Regions from separate parts of the Homo sapiens genome. Here region 1 is linked to region 2. Evidence: promoter capture Hi-C in human tissues and cell types (Jung and others, 2019). All regions are on one chromosome and are shown on one strand. The core of a region is centred on a gene start or on the middle of the fragment in contact, and the rest is flanking DNA. Distances in the headings are between cores, read along the strand shown.

Region 1 (2,700 bases), core at 13-2,512, 130 kb after region 2:
GAGGGAAAAAAAGGTTCAGAGCAGTTAAATGATTTTTTTCAGAGTCACAAGACACATCAGAGGACCCAAGTCTCTCTTTCACATTCTCATTACACATGACCCAGATGCTGGCAAAAGATGATACTGCTGCCTTCCACAGTTCAATTCATCCACCCTTCTCCCCACCTCACTTCCAACCTTCACAAATGACACGAGGCATACAAAGTGGGGAAGTGGAGTCAGGAATGACAGTAACCAGAGGAATTGGGCAGGTGTAAGGATTGGACCACACTGCCAGCCACACAGCTGTCCTCCTCACCCCACTATGAAAGGTGAAACCCCATACTGAGCAATACAGTGGTACCCACTAGAATTGCCACAAGCAGTACAATAAACTGCTCCCACACACTGCCTTCATGTTTACCAAGTATGTTCATTACCCTGTCATTCACAGTTCCAATCTGGTTGGTCCTACATAGCTTGCCATATTCCTTGCTATACTTGGCACAGAGCTGATCAGCAACCTAAAAAGAAAAAGGACAGCAAATAAAAATAGAGACCACTCCAACGGACTGCTTTAAGCTTCTTCCTGGCAACAGTAAACACGCGTCTATTACAAGATTTCCAAAACACTGGAGTCTGCAAAACCTTAAGGGGTATGCATTAATCCACTATTTGTTCATCCATCCATCCATCCATCCAATGAGCAGCACTCGAGTGCCAAACACTATCATGAGTATTATACAATATAAATAAAATGAACAAAACAGATACTGTTCTTACTCTTATAGAGTCTTACATTAATCAAATTGTACAAAGTAAAGTTTCCTCTTCAAAATTTCCCTTGTTAAAGAATAAATCATAAGTGTTAGAAATAAGCTTCTTTTAAAAGACTAACTTCCTTCAAGCCTCCTTGCTTTGTGCTAATAACTCTTTGTTAAGCCGTATCCTATGTAGCTGTTAAATATAAGAAATACATTCTATGTCCTTGTACTTTAACCAAGATATCTGTGCTAGATGTGCTCACAGGCAAGTCCCAGCTCGCAGCCTATGCCCCTTCCTTATTTGGGAATGTTAGTACTTTTCTAAGTCTTCTCATAAGCAAGTTCCTCTTTTCCTTTGTTCTCCCTTGCATATATCTATTTTAAAAACTTTTAAAACCTTTAGCCAAACGGGTGTAGCCCAGACTGTGAGGTCCAGTTCCAGCCAATGGAATCAGGACACAGCAGTAGGGTCCAGATGTGTAGGATATAAATATTTTTACCCCCTTTGTTCAGTGTGCGCTCGCCATTGTTCCATCTGCAAGGAGCACCCTTTCTGCAGAAGGTAAAAATTGCCTTGCTGAAATAAATTTATATTTGAGTGCTATTTCTCTGTGGCACTGGGGAACAAGCATTTCTAACAAAATAATCACACAGATAAAGGTACAACTGCAACTACAGTAAGTGATACCAAGGGAAGGTGCACCATGCTATCACCAGCTTCTAACAGCAGAATCAAATCTGATCAGAAAAGTCAGGTAAGGCTTCCTGAGGGAAGTGATGCTTTGCTGAGATTTAAAGGATGACTAAGGCCAGGCATCGTGGCTCATGCCTGTAATCCCAACACTTTGTGAGGCTGAGGCAGGCTGATCACTTGAGTTCAGGTGTTCAAGACCAGCCTGGGCAACGCAGCAAAACCCTAGTCTCTATTTTTAAAAGATACAAAAATTAGCTGGGCATGGTGGCACGCACCTCTTGTCTCAGCTACTCAGGGGGCTGAGGTGGGAGGATGATCAGTTGAGCCCAGGAAGCCGAGGCTGCAGTGAGGCAAGATCGTGCCACTGCACTCCAGCCTGGGTGACAGATCAAGACCGTCTCAAATAATAAATTAAAGGATGACTAGGAGTTAACTAAATAGGGAAGGAAGCACATTCCAGGAAAAGAAAACAGCAGTGCAAAGGCCTCTGGCAGAAACAAACATGGTCAGTTCTCAAGCCTGCAATCAGCCAGTGAGCCTCTAGTGCAGAGGCCAAGGAGTGTGGTAAGAAATGAAAAAGGGAAGTGGGAGCCAGACAATGCAGGACCATGTAGGCTGTATCAGGGAGTTTTGTTTCTATCACAAGAGCAACAGAAAGCTACTAATGGGCTTTAAAGCAAGAGGTCGTGACAGGATCGGAGCTGTGTTTTGGACAAAACCCTCAGGTGGTTCTGATGGAATGGTGTGAATAGATTAAAAGAAGCCAAAGTAGGAATAGGAAGAATATTCAAGAAGCTACTCTCATTTCCAGACAGGAAACGACAGTAGCATTGGACCAGAGTGGTCCCAACATTCCAGAAGCCCAGTAGGAGAGTTCTCACTGTTCATTATGAAGACTTTCAGGGGTACCTGACACCTATGATATAAATGGCATTTGTCTTTTATGGTTTTTGTTTTGGCTGGTTTATACTACACAGAGATTTTTTTATTCACATTAATTTATCACTCTGTTTATGGCTTTTGAGTTTTGTAACATATTTAAGCCTTTTCCAAAATTAATTTTAAAGGAGTACAGAAGAGACCAAAAACGGCTCAACATGGTGGCTCACGCCTGTAATCCCAACACTTTGGGAGGCCGAGGCAGGCGGATCACGAGGTCAGGAGTTCGAGACCAGCCTGGTCAACATGATGAAATCCCGTCTCTACCAAAAATACAAAAAATTAGCTGGGCATGGTGGCGGGCACCTGTAATCCCAGCTACTA
Region 2 (2,700 bases), core at 29-2,528:
CTCAGACACCGCAAAGATAGTGGTAATAAAATGTAGATAACTCAGAGATGGGAACTTTGGGCTTACTGTGCTATTCCTCTACTTCTTGATATTTTCCGTAATAAAAGGTTCCTTAAATATATAATTTTAAACACGTGGGTATTTCTAGTATTTTATAATAATTCACCTTTAGGAAATGGTATCTGAAACCCCAAAATGCCAGAAGGTTACCTGGAAGAGAACTGGTGTCCAAAAGCAGGACGGTGGCCATGGGCATTGACCCACAGGTGCCGTCTGCCAGTTCACCATCTCACTAACAAATGCCAACCATTCGGGCACTACTTGCTTCTATTAAAATAGTTTCTAGGCCAGACACGGTGGCTCATGCCTGTAATCCCAGCACTTTGGGAGGCCAAGGCAGGCAGATCACGAGGTCAAGAGATCGAGGTCATCCTGGCCAACATGGTGAAAGCCCGTCTCTACTAAAAATACAAAAATTAGGTGGGCATAGTGGCGCACGCCTGTAGTCCCAGCTACCTGGGAGGCTGAGGCAGGAGAATCACTTGAACCTGGGAGGTGGAGGTTGCAGTGAGCCGAGATCATGCCACTGCACTGCAGCCTGGTGACAAAGCGAGACTCCATCTCAAAAAAAAAAAAAGTTTCTAGTCTTATTATTTCAACATTTCAAAAAGTGTTTATTTTTATAAGATCTAAGTGCCTTAATTAGATGTATCCCAGGTATTAGTGTGTATCCCAGGTACTAGTCAATTAATTGTGTCATTCAAATGTGTTACTATTAGTCTTCCTTATTGTACATTTTTAAAGAGGAAAATATCTGCTAATAAATATACTCAGGATGCCAGGAAGCCTACCACGGGAGCTGATGACATACCCTATAAAGTCAAAAATGTAACCTGAAGGAAAAAGACACTCCTGAGAGTAAATCTTATCTCCTGGGAAAGACAGCAGCACTGTCTTCTATGGATGCAGAAAAGGAGAAGATTTAACACACTAAGCCCTTTGGTTCACTATAATTTAGCCCATTTGCCCGTTTCTTTGTTCTATTTCTGCATCTCTACCGATGTATGCAAAAAAGACTGAAATAAAGAACCAGAGGAAAGGCAGGAGGGAAAGCTGTGGACCCACCTCATCTTGGTTGGTCTTGCCTCTGGAAGAGCAGTGCTGTGGGGCATCTGCTGGTCTTTTTATGCTGCCACTAGCTCACTTCTCCCCCTTCTCCATTTCGTAATTCCTGTGTCTACAAACTTTGGCCCTGGTAAGGTCACTATCTTTTCCAGTAACAAAACCACAAACAATACCCCTGTTAAGAGTTGAGCTCTTGCTTCACACTTGATTTTCTTGTGATGTTCTATTACAAATCCCAAGAAACCTGGCAACTCTATGACCCACAAACCTGCCAAAGTATTTCCTGAAATCAGCAACTGGGCAGGACAGGGCGGCGGCAGGAACCATCAATCTGTCTCTTTATCTTGGAGGATTTTCACACTGCAGAAAGGCTCATTTTGAGTTTTTTCAAACCCATTGTAGACATTTCTGCAGCCTAGCTTAGGTGGGGCTCTAAAGAAAGTACTTCCTTTTCACAGTAATTTTCTCCACCTTGTGTGTGGCCATCTCCCTATTGCTTAAAAGCTCTCCAGCCTGAAATCAGTAAATGTGTTTATTGTGTCTTCTCTGATTGCTCTTTGCAAGAAATCACACAACTAGTTAAAGCTATAGTGTAGACTGACACAGACTATACTCAATGGCAGTGGTTCTCATGGTTTTATAGTCTGGTGATTAGCCTAAATAGGCAGATGAGAAAAATCAATATGTCTCAGTCAAATGTCTGCACCTGTGTGTATCCCAGGTACTAGTCAACTGAAACTTAGTAGCAACTCAATACAAGGTTGATTTATTCATTAAAAAGGGTTAGTTGTTCTTAAATTAGAGTGTACAAAAGAATTACTTTTGGATAATCATGGTGACACTGATATAATAGCAAAGTAACTAGAAACAAGACAAATGCCCATCAACAGGAGGAAGGGTCAATACTGCATTGTATGTGGATATAATGGAATATTATACAGCATAAAATGAATAAACTCTGCAAGAACATGGATCATCTTATAAACATAATTTTTGAAAGAAAACCGCAAGTTTCAGAAGATTACCTTCAGTATGATGGCAGTCTTCTAGAGATCAAAACCAAGTAAAACTTGGCAATGGATTCTTAGATAATGACACCAAAATCACCAGCAATCAAAGAAAAATTAGATAAATTGGGCTTCATCGGAATGAACATTTGTGTATCAAAAGACAGTATTAATAAAATGAAGACAGGCCAGGCGTGGTGGCTCACGCCTGTAATCCCAGCACTTCGGGAGGCTGAGGTGGGCGGATCATGAGGTCAGGAGTTTGAGACCAGCCTGACCAATGTGGTGAAATTCCATCTCTACTAAAAATACAAAAATTAGCCAGGCATGGTGGCGCATGCTTTAATCCCAGCTACTCGGAGGCTGAGGCAGGAGAATTGCTTGAACCTGGGAGGCAGAGGTTGCAGTGAGCCTAGATCGCACCACTGCACTCCAGCCTGGGTGACAGAACAAGACTCTGTCTCAAAAAAAAAAGTGAAGACAGTCTACAGAATGGGAGAAAATATTTGCAAATTCTATATCTGATAAAGGGTTGTTATCCAGAGCATATCCTAACTACAACAACAAA

Evidence for each region. Contacts are between HindIII fragments. The study calls those that stand out against the background at their distance.
Region 1: a contact is called between a fragment that was not itself captured here and the fragment with the promoter of HP in region 2, in 1 of the 25 tissues and cell types used here (liver).

Annotation. Positions count from the first base shown.
Region 1 is chr16:71,918,542-71,921,241 of GRCh38, reverse strand. It overlaps IST1 (IST1 factor associated with ESCRT-III), which reads right to left. Exons shown (of 10, transcript NM_001270975.2): 5 at 420-503. Among named protein-coding and RNA genes, the nearest start is that of IST1, 24 kb to the right of the region's middle. RefSeq lists an enhancer at 1,730-1,909. The HindIII fragment of the contact is 3,427 bases long and covers 1-2,700 here.
Region 2 is chr16:72,053,083-72,055,782 of GRCh38, reverse strand. It overlaps HP (haptoglobin), which reads right to left and starts at 1,278. Exons shown (of 7, transcript NM_005143.5): 1 at 1,126-1,278. The coding sequence starts at 1,130. The HindIII fragment of the contact is 10,372 bases long and covers 1-2,700 here.